6 separate regions of the Homo sapiens genome follow, and regions 1, 2, 3, 5 and 6 are each linked to region 4. Evidence: promoter capture Hi-C in human tissues and cell types (Jung and others, 2019). All regions are on one chromosome and are shown on one strand. Each heading gives the region's core, a stretch centred on a gene start or on the middle of the fragment in contact. The rest is flanking DNA. Distances are from core to core; before and after follow the strand shown.

Region 1 (2,862 bases), core at 266-2,765, 410 kb after region 4:
TGACTGAGATACAGGAAGTAGTGTCCCGAGGCTGTGCAGGGCAGCAGGGCCCTGGTCCTGGCTCAGGAAACCACTTTTCTCTCCTATGCCTCTGGGACTGTGATGGGTAGGGTACTCTGGAGATCTCTGGAATGGCTTCAAGGCATTTTTTCCCATTGTCTTGGCAATTAACATTTGGCTTCTCTTTACATATGCAAATTTCTTCAGCCTGCTTGAATTCCTCCCTAGAAAATTGATTTTTCTCTTCCAACACATTTCTGGGCTGCAAATTTTCCAAACTTGTAGGCTCTGCTCCCCTGTGAAACATAAGTTCCTGTTTTAGGTTATTTTTGCTCATGCATATGAACATAGGCTATTAGAAGCATCCAGGCCACATGTTGAAAGCTTTGCTGATTAGGAATTTCTTCAGCCAGATACCCTAAATCAACACTCTCAAGTTCAAAGTTCACAGATTCCTAGGGCAAGGTCACAAAGCAGCTAATTGCTTTGCTAAGAAACAAAAGTGACCTTTGTTCCACTTCCCAATAAGTTCCTCATGTCCATCTGAGACCTCCTCAGCCTGAACTTCATTGTCCATATCACTCTCAGCATTTTGGTCCAACCATTCAACAAGTCTCTAGGGAGTTCCAAACTTTCATCTCCCTGTTTTCTTCCGAGCCTTTCACACTCTTCCAGACTCTGCCAGTTACCCAGTTCCAAAGCTGGTTCCACATTTTCAGGTATCTTTATAGCAATGCTCCACTCTTTGGCACCTATGTTCTGTATTAATCCATTCTCTCACTGCCACAAAAAATACCTGAAACTGGGTAATTTTTAAAGAAAATAAGCTTAATTGGCTCACAGTTCTCCAGGCTGTATGGAAAGCATGGTGCTACATCTGCTTGGGGAGGTCTCAGGAAACTTTCAATTATGGTGGAAGGTGAAGGGGAGGCAGACATCTTACATGGCCTGAGCAGGATGAAGGGGGGTGGGGAGTGCCACGCACTTTAGCCATGGATCTTGTGAGAACTCACTCACTGTCATGAGAACAGCAAGGGGGAAATCCGCTCCCATGCTCCAATCATCTCCCAACATATCCCACTTCCAACACTGAAGATTACAATTTGACATGAGATTTGTGCAGGGACGCAGGTCTGAAGCCTCCATGCCCCACACCCTTTGCTTTCATGTGATTCTCACAGGATGTGCATATGTAGGCTCAGCCAGAGTAACAGGGCTGCCTGCACCATGCCCCATGCCAACTCCTTGCTGGTGTGGCTTTCTAGCAATGCTACAACAAATCACTGCAGCTTAGTGGCTTAAAACCACACACATTTATTCTTCACAGTTCTGGGGTTAATGTTCAATAGGGGTCTCATTGGCTAAAAGTGGGGTGTCTGCAGGGTGAGTTCCTTCTGGGTGCCCTAGGGCAGAAACCATCCCTGAGTTTCCCAGCTTTGGTGGCTGCCCACACCCCTTGGCTCCTGGTCCCTCTTCCACCTCCAAAGTCAGCAGCACTGGCTGGCCTCTCACACAGCAACTTCCTGCCACCAGCTCTCTGGCCTTTCTCCCCGACATTGCAGAACCTCTGCCATTATGTCAGAGCACCTGGTCCATCCTGGGAAACCTCTTTAGTTAAACTTAGTTGATGGGCAAGCTCACTCCTGCTCACCTGTAACCATTCACAGCTTCCCAGGACTGGGACAGGGACATCTCCGGAGACTGCCGTCCCCCTCACCTGTAACCATTCACAGCTTCCCAGGACTGGGACAGGGACATCTCCGGAGACTGCCGTCCCCCTCACCTGTAACCATTCACAGCTTCCCAGGACTGGGACAGGGACATCTCCGGAGACTGCCGTCCCCCTCACCTGTAACCATTCACAGCTTCCCAGGACTGGGACAGGGACATCTCTGGAGACTGCCGTCCTCCTCACCTGTAACCATTCACAGCTTCCCAGGACTGGGACAAGGACATCTCTGGAGACTGCTGTTCCCCGATACTTGCTTTACAACTTGGTAAGTCAGCCAGGCTTCCCATCGTGCAGACACACTGCTGGCCAATGTCCCTTCTCATCTCCTACCCAGCACAGGTAGGCAGGGGTGTGGGGGGAGGGGGACCCTCTACAGAGGCTCCGCCACCACTCAGGGGCCCCACCACCACCCATGGGTCCTGCCACCACTCACGGGCCCCGCCACCACTCACGGGCCCCGCCACCACCCATGGGTCCTGCAACCACTCATGGGCCCCACCACCACTCACGGGCCCTGCCACCACCCATGGGTCCTGCCACCACTCACATGGGCCTCACCACCACCCACGGGTCCTGCCACCACTTACGGGCCCTGCCACCACTCACGGGCCCTGCCACCACCCACGGGTCCTGCCGCCACTCACGGGCTCTGCCACCACCCACGGGCCCCTTCACTACTCATGGGTTCCGCCACCTCTTACGGGTCCACACTCACAGGCGCCACTTCCTGATGCTGTTGCTCCATGAGGTCAGTCACTCCATGTGATTCACAGTGGGAAGAATGGGGGGTGTCAAGACTAGGCAATGTGTGCAGGGCCACCCAATTAGAAATGGCAGGAATTTGGATTTAAACACGGTTGTTTCTGACTTCAAATCTGACAATTTGCACAACACACATTTAAGAAACATTTGTATGTTTGCAGGAATTTGAGCTCTGAAGCCCGCAAAAGAATGAGTCCTTGCTGATGGGACACTGGCAGTGGCCTCCAGGGAGTGGCCTGTGACTGAGGTCCCTTGATCTGCTTGTGGATCTGCCGCTACATCTTTGGAGTTGAAACAGACACAATGGGAATCCACCCGTCAACTCTCATCATCAATACATTTCCGGTTCCCTAGAGGCCATGGCTGAA
Region 2 (2,903 bases), core at 322-2,821, 300 kb after region 4:
TGCCACCTTCCGCGTGTCCTGTACCTGGTCCTGTGTGTTTCTCAGGGCGGGGGACTTACTGCCTCCAACCCGAGTGCAGACAGAACCCGGTACCAGGGGCATGCTTTCTGAATATGGAGGCAGGAGAGGAAAAGGCGGGGAGAAGAGACGAGTGGAAAGGTGGTAAGGAGAAAAAAGGCAAAAGATGGGGAACTCGGGTATGGGACAGAGAGGCCGGCTGGTGGTGGGCTCTCTCGCATGAAGAACAGACTCTGCCTTACTGTCTCTGCACCTGCTTCCCAAGCATTAGCATTTTTATCTGTATCGGTGAGAGTGTGGCAGGAGCTCGCATGGATCTGAGTTCCACGGCACTCGCTGGCTGAGATCCTGCCCTCACTTTGCTGACATGGCCACTGCCTGGTGAAGAAGACAAACAGTGCAGAATTAACAATAGCAATAACAACACCCCAAGTTAGAATTCTGGTGCAAAATGTTCACTTTTCAGGAAAAATAAAACAAAACACTCATGCCTGTAATCCCAGCACTTTGGGAGGCCGAGGTGGGCGGATCACAAGGTCAAGAGATCGAGACCATACTGGTCAACATGGTGAAACCCCGTCTCTGCTAAAAATACAAAAATTAGCTGGGTGTGGTGGCGGGTGCCTATAGTCCCAGCTACTTGGGAGGCTGAGGTGGGAGAATTGCTTGAACTTAGGAGGTGGAGGTTGCAGCGAGCCAAGATTGTGCTACTGCACTCCAGCCTGGCGACAGAGCAAGACTCCATCTCAAAGAAAAAAAAAAAAAAAACCAACAACAAAAAACCAAAAAAACCGAAAAACAAAAACAAAAACAAAAAGCACATGAAAAGAAAGAAAAAACCTGAAGCTCAATTTTTTCTTTTAGAAGCCAGAAAGACGATGTGTGTGGAGGATTAAAGATTGGAATGCAAGTCCCGTCCTCTCCTGGGTCCTGGAAAGACACGAGCCTACGAGCCACCCATTGCACCCCCGAGTCCCCCATGTCTCAGCACTGCTGAGAGCTCATGCATTGCTGTCCTGGGGGTGATCTGTCGGCGGCCGCCAGAATTTGGAGGCTTTGTGGAGCCAACCTGCTGAGGGAGAAGGGCCCCAATTTCCTGTCCAGCCGCTTGGAGCGTCTGGCAAAGATGGAGGCCTGAGAGTGAATTTCTGCCAACCTGTTATCTCAGGATCACAACTTTTCCCCTTCCCAAGAAACAAGTGTTATTATTATATTTTTAATTCCCTAATGTGTGACCCGGCAGCCCGTATCATCTTACAGGGAATGAATAGGGAGGCCAGGGCAGGCTGTGTGGCCAGCGCTTTCAATATCCCCCCTGCGAGCCATTACATCACCCGGCTACTCTCTAAGAGGATTTTCAGCAGGCCTGGCTTCGTTATTAAAATAGTAATTAATTTTTTCCTCTTCACAAAACCCAGGGACCTTCAGATGGAGGCCTTGGGAGCGAGGGCAATCTCCTTTTGAAAGTGGCCTTTCTGGAAGCCATAATCGGCTCTCCAGCCCTCCGTACACATGTTCCCCAGTAAATGTGATTAAAGAGCCACACAAAAACCCCCTTGCAGAAAATTAATTCAGTTTCCAGAATAAAAAGTTTGATAAAGTTGTGCAATGCTCCAATGACAACACATAATAGAGGGGGAAAGTTTTATCCCCTTGAAGGATAAATGAATGGCCAGAAAGGTCTGGTAGTTCCCAGAGTAAAAACATCTGCTACAGCTAATTCACTTTAGCTTTCGATTGTAAAATTCATTAGCCATATCAGGCAGCCGTCATCTCAAACACAAGGCCAGGAAGTACAGTTTCACAGGCTGGGGCGCCACGGCCCTCCTCAGCCATTGCCAGGATCTAGCCCACTGCAGACTGGGACAGACATCCTCCCAGGGACCTCGCAGGCGCTGGATCTCTTGCGGCTGGTGACATCTTTTCAGCCCTTAGGTCTTCTTCAGGGAGTCTCCTTTATTTCTATTCCAAGAGAGGCTGCCCGCTGCAGAGGTGAAGGCCTGGTTAAAGTTCCTGTTCTGCCACTTACTAGTAGCTTAACTTTTCTAAACCTCGGTTTTCTGCCCTATGAAAGAAGAGCGATGATGACTCCTTTTGGGGTTATCATGAGGATTAACTGAGATGATAGACCTAACGGCTTAGCACTGTTCCTGGAAACTGGCAGAGAATTGCCAAGTGGTAGATGCTCTTCCTAGTTAGATGTGGGGGGAAAGAAAATTAGCTCAGAACACAGCTCTCTTGGGGGGCAGAATCTTCCTTAAGTCCTGTGGCTGTTTAACAGTATCCCCTCCAAATTCAGGTCCACCTGTAACTTCAGAATATGACTTTATTAGAAAACAAGGTTTTGGGAGATTTAATGAGTTAAGAATTTCAAGACAACACCATCCTAGACTTAGGGTGGGCCCCGCATCTGAGGACCAGTGTTCTCATAAGAAAAGGAGAAGGCGCAGGCAGAGGGAGGGCTCTGTGAAGATGAGGACAGAGACCCAGGGAGCGGGAGAGGCAGCCACAGTCAAGGAACACCTGGGGCCAGCAGAAGATGGAGGAGGCAGGAAGGATTCTCCCCTGGAGCCCCAGAGGGGGCAGGGCCCATGACACCTTGATGTGGGGCTTGTGGGTTTCAGAACCGTGTGAGAAATCGTTTCTGTTGTTTTAAGCCACCCAGTTTGGGTACAGAGTCCCCTTGACTTACCATGGGGTTAAGTTCGGAGGAACCCACCGTAGGTTGAAAAATCATTAAGTTGAAAAAGCATTTAATACACCGAATATTCCCAGCATCATGGCTCAGCCCAGCCTGCCTTAAACATGCTGAGAATGCTCCTGTTAGCCTGCGGTTGGGCAAGGTCATCTAATGCGAAGCCTATGATTGTACAGTAAGAGCTGAA
Region 3 (3,144 bases), core at 66-2,565, 380 kb after region 4:
ACATTTTGTATCATTTTCCATGGGTTTCCTCATTTCTTTTCTTAAAGCTTATATAGAAGAATACACTGAAGTATTCAATTCCACACTGTTTAAGTTTTGGGGAATTTTTCTGTAGACTGACCTGCTGTGATGACTTACAGTTAAAGATTGAGATCTATTTTTGAATTACTCTGTTTGAAGTTTTTTTTAATCATTACATTCCTTAACATCTTAAAGTTTACAGTTAAAAAATTTTTATTTAAACAAAATGCAAATCTGGTATAATGATGGTGAAATTACTTTTAGTGTAATCGTTTAAATAATCGACACCCACTGCAGAACTGACGGAGCTCTAACCGTGGGGGTCGCACCGCATGCAAGACCCCTCGCCACCCTCTTTTCAGGCTCCCCATGGGCCTTGGGATCACACCGGGCACGTTCACCATCAGGCACTGCAGGTTGGCCTCAGGACAAAAATGCATTTTTCATCTGACAAGTCCGACGCATGAATAAACAACTTAAATGCAATTTAAGTACTATGATGAGGTGAGGCATAATTAATTTTAAAATCATAGTTAAGTGTGTGGTCTCCTGGCTCATTTAATGTGAGAAGAACATCACTAAATAGCTTGCTTTGCACGGATGGAACAGCCGCTGTCTTCCAAGTGTTGGTGTGTTGTTTCCTTCTCCCTCCTAGACCAGATTTTTTAAGGTTGCTGTGATTACCTCATAAACTATTTGAAAGCTCCAGTTCACAAAAGCATCTTAGAAGTGCCGGGGCTCTGACTCACTTCTCTTTAGTGTCTTTGAAATTTCTGTAGCTCGAATCACAATGGCTCCTGCTGGTGACAGCTCTCTCTCTCTTCCTCTTGCTCCCTTATCTCATATGACTCCTACTAATGTTGTTTTATGGCACTTTCTTAAATGTAACATTTAGCATGATTTCCTTGTATTTACACTTGAGAAAAATAATAATAAATACTACAATTTTAAGTCATTTTGTGGGAAAAATATAATTGTACTGCAATGATGATTCAATGTCACTCTTGCTTTTCAGTGATGCTTATATGTGACCTTTTTTTATCTCCCTGTGGGAAGTCTCAAATTCTGCAATGCAACTAAGGTAGGAAGATGTTATCTCTTTTTCCTAAGTTTGAAAACTAAGACACAGTCTGATTAAGTGAACAATTGATTTAATTATGTCACATATTATCAAAGAATGAGTACCATTCAAAGATTAAAAATATTTATTGGGTTGAAATTCAGCTCCTCACAATGACTCATGAGTGCCAGACATTACGGTGTCTATTTTATAGGTGAGGAAATGGAGGTTGAGAGGAGTTAAACCACTTAACCGATGCCTGACAACTGGTAAATGGCACCAGGAAGTGATTCCAAGTCTGTCGAATTCCAGGCTGATGCTTGTCACCGCTTACCATTCTAACCTCCAAAATCGATTGGCTAGAGGAGACGCTGCCCCTGTTAGAAATAAAGTGAAGGCTTTGTGTCTTCCTCATTCAGTCTCACCATCAGCTCCAGTGGTCTGCAATCCTGAAAGAACACACAGGTGCCATGACAAACCTTATCAAAGCTGAGACAACTGGGGCTCCAGCCCAGCTCCAGAGCTGTGCCATGGCGGGGTGTCATCTGCCCTCCTGAGCACAGCGTGTGAGGTTTAGAGACTCCCAGCAGGGCTCCACCCACACTGCAGTTGCATTGGCCACAGGAGACCCAGGCCATGCTGGGTTCCATCATTTGTCAGCAGGCATTGAATGATCGAAGTTTTGAAAGTATTATGGGAATTCTTATAGAGGTACAACTTAACTATCATCTTTATAAATGGGTAGGCTTCTAGGTGGGGAAGGGGTTTGGATAGTTGCACTGAGAAGTCAATTGGAAAGGAGCCCATGAGGCATCAGTTAATGGGAAAACCACACTTTGGCAATCATAACTTGGCATAGACAGCAACTTATATCTAAGTGTTTATTAGCATTCAGTGCTCAGCACAGGTGTCTTCAAAAATCCAAACCGGGAACAGCAGCTTCAGTTCTGGTGCTTCCAGGTTCTAAAGGCCACAACGTGAGCACATGCTGTCCAGACATTTCCAGCTCTGTTGCTGAAGTGTGAAGAAAGTGCCCAGCCCATGTCTAGATCTGATGGAACTCGTTAGCCTAGGAGCCACAGTCCCTTGAGGCAAGGATGGTGGCTGAGTCATCTTATTATCCCTGGAGTGCATTTTGTACTTATGCTTGTAATATATGTTTAAATAACCACACCCAACTTCAATTTTTATCCCCTGATCTTTTAGTAAAGGCGGTATTGCACCGAAGTGCTCTGGTTCACACTTTATAAAAAGAACTTGCTCTTTTGAGCATGAATTTCCTCACCTGAAAATTGAGTATATTAACAGAATCTGCCTCCTAGGGTTCTTGTGAAATTAAAAGAGATAAAGTGATAGTATCATACATGAGATACATTCATTAGAAGTTTGGAATTCTTTATTTTTAGCAACAATTCCTCTCATCACATCCTCATACACGCTTTCACTTGATGTCAACATGCGAAGTTTGGTGTCTTGGAATGGCCATTCCCTAGGCAGCCCCATCTGCCTTTTAGTTTGAACTTCATAATTGAACACATTTTTATTATTTCAGAAATCACAGCAGGGCTAACATTTATTGAGAATTTACCGGAAGCCTGGCACCATGTTGTGTACATAGCATTGTGAGATTTAACATACATGAATATCATATTATGCAAATAGTGTTTTCATTTACAAATAAGAAAGTGGTGACTAAGAGGGGTAAGTGCCGTCCTAACATGACTCAAGGGCCCCATATGTCCTGGCTCTAGAGCAGGTGTCCCCAATCCCTGGGTCATAGACTGGTACCCATCCATGGGCTGTTAGGAACTGGGCCATACACAGGAGGTGAGCAGTGGGTGAGCAAGTTTTACCACCTGAGCTCCGCCTCCTGTCAGTTCAGCGGTGGGATTAGATTCTCATAGGAGTGCAAACCCTACTGTGAACTGTGCATGGCAGGGATCTAGGTTGCATGCTCCTTCTGAGAATCTAATGTCTGATGATCTGAGGTGGATGGAACATTTTCATCCCAAAAGCATCCTCCACTCCGCAGCCCCTGTCCCTACCCTAGTCTGTGGAAAAAT
Region 4 (3,188 bases), core at 438-2,937:
GGAAACTCTTCCGCCCCGTTTCCTTTTCGCAGACAGTCTCATTCTCAGAGTAAAAAGATCACCATCTGCCTCCAACAACTTATAACAGGTCAATCATAAAAGTTGGCCTGCCTGTTTTTTTAAGGAGCAAATTATTTTACTGCGAGCTGTGCTGCGGGCTCGGGGTCGTGGGGTCGCCCCTCCTCGGCCCTCTTTCCTGGCGCCCTGGGGGCCCCGCGGGGCGCGCCGAAGCCCGGGCGCCGCCGGCCGAGGTTTTGACTCGACGAAGGGGGTGGGGGCGCCCCAAACTTTGCGGGGCTAAGGCGCCACTCTGGGAAGTCCAGCCCTTTGCCAGTCTCTTAACTTTCGCGGCGCCTGCCCTTTGCTCTTGGATGTTTCGAAGAGGACGCTCCTACCAGCGAAATGACTGCAAAGCCGAGGTCTCCAGCGCCCGGCCTCGGCGGATCCAAAAAGACGGGAGAGAAAAGGCCCGCGCAGACGCTGCAACGAACGCCCCGGAAACACGCCGCGAGCAGGGGCCAGGCCCAGGCCGCCGCCGCTGCGCTCACCCCCAGCTTAATTCCCCGGGCGGCCATTAGGCAGAGCCAAGCCCCCGACCTTCTCCTCGCCTCGCGAGGGATCACAGGCTGCGTCAACGCGCTGGGACACCGCGGGTCACCCGAGGCGGTGCGGGGGCCCGGGAGGGGCCGCGGGCCCCCGAACAAAGCTGGCCGGGCGGCGGGGTCCCCAACCCGCGTCCAGCGGTAGGTGGGCTGCGGTCGCCTTCCCCGCCGCCGCCGGCCTCAGCGTCCTGGCGCAGAGACCCTGGGGGGCGGCGCGGCGGCGGAGGCACCGTGGACTCCCTCCCGCCCCGGCCTCCGAGCCGTCCTCGAGCCGGCCGCGGCCTCGGCGCCCTTCGCGGGCAGCTCCCCGACTCCGAGGAGAGGAGCCAAGTTTACTTCGCCCACAACTCTCTCGGCGGCCGCGCGCGCTCCGGCGAAGTACCCGGGGCCCCGCGGCCGGCCTGGCGCGGGGCGGACGCTTGCCCGCAGGAAGCAGGGAACTTTCTCCCGCTCCCGGACGCGCGCATCCGCTCCCGCCGCACGCGCTTCCCCAGCCCGGACGGGCAGCCCCAGACCCCCCGGCCACCCCGCAGCCCCGGCCCTCACCGTGCTCGGGAGCCCCGTCAGGCGGCAGCAGCTCCTCGTCCGACTTGAGGTGCTGGGGCTTGGCCTGCTTGCGCCGAGACATGCTGCTAGCGGCGCTCGGGCCCCGCGCGGGGCAGCGGCATCAGCGGGGCGGCCGGCGGGGACGGCGCGGGGCGGCCTGGCGGGCGCGCGGCGCGGGGCGCGGGGCGGCGGCGGCTGCGCGGGCCGCGCATGGGGCTGAGCAATTAGGCTGGTGAATAATGCATGGCCATTAGCGGAGGGCCGCGCCGATTGGCCGGGCTCCAGCGGACTCCGGCGGCCTATGCAAATGAGGCCGCGCTCGCAATTAGCGGCCGCGCCGACGAGGAGGGGGCCGCGGCGCCTCGGGACCGGGGCGCGCGCTGCCCGGCGCCGCCTCACATCGCGGGCTCCGGCGCCGCGCTCCTCGGCCGCCCCGGGTGCGGCTGTGGCGGGGCCCGGGTGCGGCGCGGGCCGCGGTGGCCGTCCCTCCGCAGGGCGCAGGCAGCAAACTTTGGCGGCGTCCGCGCGGCGCCGTCTCCGCCGGCGCGCCGGGCTCGCCCCTTTATAGAGTGTCTGCGCCGCCGCCCGCGCCCCCCCCGCCGCCGCCGCCGGGCGGCCCCTCCCGGAGCGAGCGGCCGCGGGCAGGGCTCCGACCCGGCGCCTTTGTCTCGCCCGGGCCGCTCGGGCGCCGCGCCTCCTGTTCCGGGCGCGCGGGGTCGGCCGGCCGCCTTCGCTGCTCCGCCGCGGCTCTCAGCGCCGCTCAGCGCGGCGGGCCCGCCCGGGCTCAGGTGCCCCCCGCTCTCCGGACCTTCTCGCCCGGCCCCGCGTCCCCTCCGCGGGCTTCCCCCGGCGGCCGGCCGGGCTCGGAGGCTCGCGGCCGGAGCGGAGCGGAGTGCGCACGCCGGGGTGGCAGGACTTCGGCAAGACCAACTTTCCGGTTCGGAAGCGGCGCGGGCCGCGCGGCTCCTCCCCTCCTCTCCCTCCCCTGCGTTCCCCCTCCCTTCCACTCCCCCCTCTCCCCGCCCCCCAACCCGCGGGCCCCACCGACTCCGGAGCGCCCGCCCCGCCCGCTGCTGCCACCGGGCCGCCTCGCCCCCGCGCCAGCCCGCCTGGGCCTCTGCGCCGCCGGCGGCTTCTTAAATACAGGAAAGGGAGGGGACCGCAGGGCCCCGGTGTTCCCCACCCTAGTCCCCCTTCACCACGGGCCACCGGGCGCCAGCGGAGTGGGCAGCGAGCGCGACCGAAAGTTCCAACTCCACCAAACTCCCGCGCGCGGCCCACCCTTTCCCGGGATTTCGGGGATGACACGGGGGCCAGGTGAGGGGGCTGCGCACTTCTGGATCGGCCCCACACACTCGGCCCCTGGCGCGGCGCGCTCCCCGCACACGCGCCCGCCCCCTCCCCGCGGTCACACGCACGCGCCCTCGCCCTCGCCCCGCGCGCACAGGCGCGTACTCCCACCCGCGGCCGTGCACCCGCCGCGCTCCTTCCCGCGCGTGTCCTCTCTCCCCGAGCGGCCGCCAGGATGTGCCCCCGGCCCCGTCGTCGCCGCGCCCGCGCCCCTCGCCCCAGTACGTCTTTTTTCGTTTCCTAAATTTCTTATTTTTGTCCTTGCAAGTGGTCCTGTCTGGTGTGAACCGTCAGCACAGATGGCCTCCTGGAGCTTCCCCGAGTCGTTCGCTGGGGGAAGCGGGCGGTGAGCGGCCAGCCCGGGCGCTCCGCAGGCCGCGAGCTCCCGGCAGGGCTGGTGGCGGGGGTCCGCCTGGGGGAGGAATCCCCGCCTGCTCCATCGGACCCGGCCTGGCGCGGCTCGCGGCGCTCGGCGGGCTCCCTTCCATTCTAGAATCTTCCCGCTTGCTTCCCAGCCCGCGTTCTTCCGCCTGCCTTTAATTGTGTAAGTTTGACGAAGTCAGAGCTTTGGGTTCCAGGAAAAGCGCAGGAGGGTCATAGAGGAAGGGAGGGCGCAGGTTGGAGTCAGGTCCAAACAGTCCCTATCGCCACTTTTGAAAAAAAAAAAAAACAACAAAAACCCTTAAGGTT
Region 5 (2,810 bases), core at 8-2,507, 280 kb before region 4:
GTCTTTTCTATAACTGGTGCTGAGACAATTGGTTTGCAGAAATATGGTATTTAAAAACTGTACTTCACACCATATATATCAAAAAAAAAAACAAAAAACACTTACAGTGGTCAAAGGAAAAACAGTTAAGCTTCTAGAAGATAATGTAAGAGGAGAGTTTCATCTCCTTGGAGTAGGGAAGGATTTTTTAAACAACATAAAAAGTGATAACCAACAAAAAAAAAACCTCATATATTTGGCATGTAAAATCAATAACTGTTTTTTCATAATTTCACCAATGGGTGAGTAAAAAGTCAAACTACAGATTGAGAAAGATATCAGCAAAACATAAGCCGAGAAAGCCTTGGCATCTAAAATATATAAATAACTGCAAGCTGCTCAGAACACCAGACAAAAGACTTAGAAAGTTCACAAAAGAGAAAATCTAAATAGCTAATATATATGTGCATAATTGTTTAGTCTCATTATCAATCTGGGAAATGATCATTAAAACTGCAATGAGAAGCCCACTTATATTAAGTGTTGCTGAGGATGTGAACTATTCTCCACACTGATGTTGGAATGGTAAATTGGTACAAACACTTTGAAAAACAGTTAAACATTATCTGGTAAATTTGACAAATAACACAGCCAAGTAGTGCTGCTCCTAGATATGTTTTTTTTTCCTTTTCTTTTTTTTGAGACAGAGTCTTACACTGTCGCCTGGGCTGGAGTGCAGTGGCGCGATCTCGGCTCACTGCAACCTCCGCCTTCCGGGTTGACGCCATTCTCCTGCCTCAGCCTCCCGAGCAGCTGGGACTACAGGCACCCGCTACCACGCCCGGCTAATTTTTTGTATTTTTTAGTAGAGACAGGGTTTCACCGTGTTAGCCAGGATGGTCTCGATCTCCTGACCTCGTGATCCACCCGCCTCGGCCTCCCAAAGTGCTGGGATTACAGGCGTGAGCCAACGCGCCCGGCCTGCTCTTAGATATCTTATACCAGGGTGCTAACGTGTGGAGTACACATCATGAAATGTTAATAGCAGCACTGCTGCTCACTGTAAAAAAACTGGAAGCAACCCAAACCCCAAAACAGCAGAAAGGATCACTGAATACACTGGAGTGTGCTCATGCAAGAGAATGACAAGCTGCAAGAAATGAGAAGAAGACAACACAACGTCCTGTACACAGCCATGTAAAACAAAAGGAATAAGACAAAAAGAAAACATCCAGTATGATTTCAATTATAGAAACTAGCAAAACAGGAAAAACTAATTCACAGCTGACCCTCAAACAACACAGGTTTGAACTGTGCAAGTCCTCTCAGATATGGACTCTTTTTAGTAAGTCAAGTCAACCCTCCGTATCTGAGGGCTCTGCACCTGCAACCAAACATGCATCAAAACACAGTATTCCTGGGAGGCGAACCCCGCAGACATGGAGGGTCCACTTGTCCCACGGGTAGGTTTTGCAGGGCCCACTGTGGGACTTGGGTACACATGCGTTCTGGTATCCATGGAGGGTGCTGGAACCAATCCCCCATGGGAACCAAGAGATGACTGCATATATTTATATATGCAATTTTTAGGTGGCAAACCTTTAGGAAAAGCAAGAAGTTAACCATAAAAGCAGCATTGTATACATATACCAAAACATTACATTGTATCTCATAAATATATATGTCTATTAAAAATGAAATAAAAATTGTAAAGCCCACACATTACAAAATAAAACAATGCTCAAAGGCTGCTGAAGTAGCTTGTGCAACAAGAAGTAATAACTTTTTTGATAGATTAAAATAAATTTGTTAACTATAATTTTTTTAAAGCCAAGACAGTGATTATTTCAAAAGAAATGAAATGAATTGTGCAAAAATATATTTTCTAAGCCAATATAAAAACTGGCACATAATTCATGCTATAACTAATAAGAGATTTATACAGAAAAAGTATAAAAGGAAACATCTTAAGCGTGTATGGCACCTTAACTCTGAAACTGGGTGAAGATACGGGTGCTAAGTGCTAGATGGTTTTTGCAGCCACGCTGGACCCTCAGGGTTCATGTATGGAATCCCTGGCATATGTACCACGTAAAGGGGATGGACTGTGGTATTACAAAAGCAGTATTAACCAGGTTTCCTGTCACAGCATCTCCACTGACCTTAAAATCTGGAAAACATGCTTCATCATAGAAATGTTTCAAATTGTTTCCCCAAATTCAGAACTCTGAATTTTCTGAGTTCAAATAAGTGAACCAGAAAAAGGGGCTCTTTAGCCAAAATTACTTCTAAACTATGCCCTTTTTCTATCAAATGACTTCTCTGTTCCCCAGCACTATTTCCACAATTAGAGGCAATAAGGTTTGTATATATAAAATAAAACTTTGTTTTATTTCAACTTTATATAAACTTTAGATAAAACTAGTGATGAGAGTTCATGAATTAGCCATGCTCAGTAACTAAAAACGTAACATAAATTATAGAAAAGTATTTTTTTTCCTAAAGAAAAATATATTTAAAAAAAATTCTAAACAAACTTGAATGTTTAGGGAATGGTTTTTGGCTTTTGTTGAGGGCTAGGTTGTGGGGAGAGGAGGAGGAATTAAAGTTTCAGATAATTTTTACTTCTATGGAGAGAAAAAGCAAGGAAAGGGGAGGGAGGGAGGGAGGGGAGCGGGGTGTCCAGATGAAGACGCTGAGGACTGAGCTGCAGGGCCCCGAGGGTACACGCCATTCATCCCTGCACCCTCACACACAGCAGCGTGGGGCGTGTACTGAGCTGAATGGCCCATCACAACACCTCCCAAAAGCACATACTCGGATGGTGAGTA
Region 6 (3,232 bases), core at 119-2,618, 270 kb after region 4:
AACCATATTCTTTCCAATTATCTGAAATAAATATTACATGGAGTTATTTGAAAACAAATTCTTGCTTTCTCCTTTGGAATCTGACAGTGTTTGTGACTCCAGAATTTTCTCTCTCTGCTTCCCACTTTTCTCACCATGGAACTTCTTGTATATAGCTCAGCATTCCTTGGAGAGCCAGGACAGGATCCCCAGTTACCCGGGATGAGGAGAAACAGCCACACCCTGTTAGGCGACAATCCTCCAGGACCATGGACAGCAGCACACTTGGGGTCGCGGACCCTATCACAAACTCATGTCTACAGCAGTCACTATCTGTCTTCAGGCCTGTCCGCCCCTGGCTATTGGCTGCTGGGAAGTTCTGGTTTTCTTTTCTTTTTATATTTTCTTACCGTGGCTGTACATGTATTTGTGTGTTTCAATTAATGTACAAATGTCCATTTTTTAGATAGAAGTCCCTGTTCTGCCAACCACTTTTCTGTGAACTTGGGAAAATGACTTCACATTTTTTCTTAGCTTTTTTTGTCTGTAAAATGAGAATAATAATATTCTATTAGTGCGTGGCAATACTGAGATAATTCATGAACACACGTTGACAAGTGCCTGGTATACAGTAAGTGCTCAATTAGTATCAATTGTTATTCTCATCATGTTTTGTATGCCTTGGGTTCTGACTTGTTCCACCATACATTTCCCATGGCCTTTAGGTGGATATAGTTCTTTGAGATGGTAGCTCTTTCTCTGTTCCTTTTGCATACAAGGACACTCCATTGATTTGTGAATGAGGATGCTTACTGGACAAATACTGGCACAGAACTCAATTGCCCTGCCAGAGAGCAGGCACCCAAGGCACCCTGTATGTTCACCTTTGCAGGGGGAATCACACACCCTACAGAAATGTAGAACAAGAAGTCTAAGCAACTCTCCTTCTCATTCTCCCATTCCCGGGGGCCAGTGGTCACATACTTTTGTCATATGATCTAATAAAAGGCTCAAATCTTACAGTGTCATTCAGAAAGGACCAAAAAACCTGCATCTGTAAAGGTGGTTCAGAACCTGAACATTTTCCAACAGATTAGGGGTATTTAAATACTATCCTTGTTTAGTTAAGTATTGGTTTAATATGTAAGTTTTGTTTCTACAAGAGCCTTGAGAGAATTTTTTAAAAAGAGTGTTTTAAAGTTTTCTAATTTTCTGGGATTCTGTCAATTGATATGTGTTAGTCAGCTTGGGTTGCCATAACAAAATACCATAGACTGTGGCTCACACAGTGGAAGTCTATTTTCTCACAGTACTGGAGGCTGGAAAGCTGGAGGCTGGAAGGCCAAGCACAGGTGCCAGCAGGGCCGGAGTCCGGGGAGGACCTCTTCTGGGTGCAGCTGCCATCTTCCTGCTGAGTCTCACGTGGTGAAGGGTGGGCAGTGGGAAGAACCCTCCTGTCTGTTCTCATAAGGGCACTGATCCCATTCGCAAGTGCTCCTGCCTTGTGATTTAATCAGCTCCCAATGTGCCCATCTCCAAACTCCATCAGAGTGGGGATTAGGGCTTCCATTTATGAATTGCAGTCCATACCATGATAGTTTCCAGGATCTGAGGCACTCAACATGGAACATTTTATCAGTTATGCAACTCAGCTCCATCCCACTAGAATAGGACAGGTAGAATGGAAAGAAGTAAACTTGGAAGGATTGATGCTTCAAATTGTTGAGGCAGAGGATCTTTCTTGAGCCACAGTTGAGCAGCTCTGTCCAGCAGAGCATTTGGCATTTAGGGTCTTGTACCTCTGAGGAGTCACAGTGCCCCTGACTTGTTAAGATGCCCAGGGTGCGCTGGCCACCTCTGAAGGCAGCTAAGACTCCCCATGGGGGTTAGGGCAATTGCTTTGAACCCTTTCTTCTTTCAGATAAGTTTTAATTAAAAATAATTTTTTTAGAGACAGGGTCTTGCTCCGTTGCCCAGGCTGGAGTGCAGTGGTGCAATCATCACCCACTGCAGCCTTGACCTCCTGGGCTCAGGCGATCCGCCTGCCTTAGCCTCCCGAGTTGCTGCGACCACAGGCGTGAACCACTGTGCCCAGCTTCCAAGTGCTTCTTTCCTTCTCACATTCTGGTGCCACATTCTTGGGCCTGTTTCTCTTACCTGACTTCCTGCTACTGACTCCATAATTTCCACTAGGATTCGGTGTCACTGATATTTTATTTCAGACTTCTAAGAACACCAACTTTGCTGGCTTTTAGCACCATGTATTTTCTCTGTAAAGAATGTCTGCTTCAGCTCCAAACCCCGCACCCCGACGGCATCCTGTCTAGGCTGACTCTTGCCTTTTACTTTGGGAATGGGAAGATGGGGGGAAATTAGGACTCCTCAGTTTGTTCTGTTTCTTTTTAGGGGAGGTACTCGTGTCCTATGATCCTTCGTGCCATTTTTTGATTGCCCAGGAATGGAAGATTATAATCTGGCATTTTCTGTTTTCAGTAGCAGGTGAGACCCTGGACTGGTCACATTCCCTCCTCACCCTGCTCTCCTCTGGCCTCTGCAAAGAAAGTTCATCTGATCATGAGTTAATCAATCAAATTTGTTAGTGATCGCATGTTGACTGAGTGCCCTCTGTGTTTACATATTTGATTTGGTTTTCATTTATCCAGGTTCTCTTCCCCACAATTGCTTGTGTAAACTCTTTCTATTTGGGGTCCCACTTCTTACAGGAAGCCCTCCCTAACCGCCTGGGGGCAGGGCACACCCCTTTCCCTGGTACTGAGCTGTGCTCCGCCTGAGTCCCCACTGTACTGTGAACTCTACAAAAGGAGGACCTGGTCTTGATCACTGTTATCTCTGTCCCCAGGACAGCACTTGATAGGTGTAACTAATAAGTGATCAATGAATGCTAGTTTGAGTACATGAGCAAATTCAGATAAACTCCTTGAAACCAGTGTCCAGACTCTCATATATTCATAACTCAGCATCCTCACACCTCATGTGTTTCTTGACATAAAGTTTATGCATTTGAATTAAAATGGTAGTTTTAGTGACATCACTGAAATTAATAAAACATCTTTTGGATACCGCGTTGACCTATTGTGCTTTGGCAAGATATATTTTTGTCACGCAATTTTAGTAATATTGAGAAACTTGCTATAATTCATTAATTTTTTCTAAAAAGAATCAATAAGATACTCTAGGTATTTGTAAGCCTGGATGTAGATAAAGTATTTACAATTGCTCTAGACCCAGGGAT

Evidence for each region. Contacts are between HindIII fragments. The study calls those that stand out against the background at their distance.
Region 1: a contact is called between a fragment that was not itself captured here and the fragment with the promoter of SALL3 in region 4, in 3 of the 25 tissues and cell types used here (H1 embryonic stem cells, IMR-90 fibroblasts and mesendoderm cells).
Region 2: a contact is called between a fragment that was not itself captured here and the fragment with the promoter of SALL3 in region 4, in 2 of the 25 tissues and cell types used here (H1 embryonic stem cells and neural progenitor cells).
Region 3: a contact is called between a fragment that was not itself captured here and the fragment with the promoter of SALL3 in region 4, in 2 of the 25 tissues and cell types used here (H1 embryonic stem cells and neural progenitor cells).
Region 5: a fragment that was not itself captured here is called in contact with the fragment with the promoter of SALL3 in region 4 in 1 of the 25 tissues and cell types used here (H1 embryonic stem cells).
Region 6: a contact is called between a fragment that was not itself captured here and the fragment with the promoter of SALL3 in region 4, in 4 of the 25 tissues and cell types used here (H1 embryonic stem cells, mesendoderm cells, neural progenitor cells and 1 more).

What each region holds. Positions count from the first base shown.
Region 1 is chr18:78,571,465-78,574,326 of GRCh38, reverse strand. No RefSeq gene overlaps it. Among named protein-coding and RNA genes, the nearest start is that of LINC01896, 410 kb to the left of the region's middle. RefSeq lists an enhancer at 1-426. The HindIII fragment of the contact is 3,961 bases long and covers 1-2,862 here.
Region 2 is chr18:78,678,209-78,681,111 of GRCh38, reverse strand. No RefSeq gene overlaps it. Among named protein-coding and RNA genes, the nearest start is that of LINC01896, 300 kb to the left of the region's middle. The HindIII fragment of the contact is 5,655 bases long and covers 1-2,903 here.
Region 3 is chr18:78,594,611-78,597,754 of GRCh38, reverse strand. No RefSeq gene overlaps it. Among named protein-coding and RNA genes, the nearest start is that of LINC01896, 380 kb to the left of the region's middle. The HindIII fragment of the contact is 4,580 bases long and covers 1-3,144 here.
Region 4 is chr18:78,978,317-78,981,504 of GRCh38, reverse strand. It overlaps SALL3 (spalt like transcription factor 3), which reads right to left and starts at 1,687. Exons shown (of 3, transcript NM_171999.4): 1 at 1,149-1,687. The coding sequence starts at 1,230. It overlaps LINC01896 (long intergenic non-protein coding RNA 1896), which reads left to right and starts at 1,814. Exons shown (of 5, transcript NR_187297.1): 1 at 1,814-2,465; 2 at 2,767-3,042. RefSeq lists an enhancer at 1-270. The HindIII fragment of the contact is 21,440 bases long and covers 1-3,188 here.
Region 5 is chr18:79,261,954-79,264,763 of GRCh38, reverse strand. All of the region lies in intron 12 of ATP9B (ATPase phospholipid transporting 9B (putative)), which reads right to left. Among named protein-coding and RNA genes, the nearest start is that of NFATC1, 130 kb to the left of the region's middle. The HindIII fragment of the contact is 5,737 bases long and covers 1-2,810 here.
Region 6 is chr18:78,710,305-78,713,536 of GRCh38, reverse strand. No RefSeq gene overlaps it. Among named protein-coding and RNA genes, the nearest start is that of LINC01896, 270 kb to the left of the region's middle. The HindIII fragment of the contact is 5,899 bases long and covers 1-3,232 here.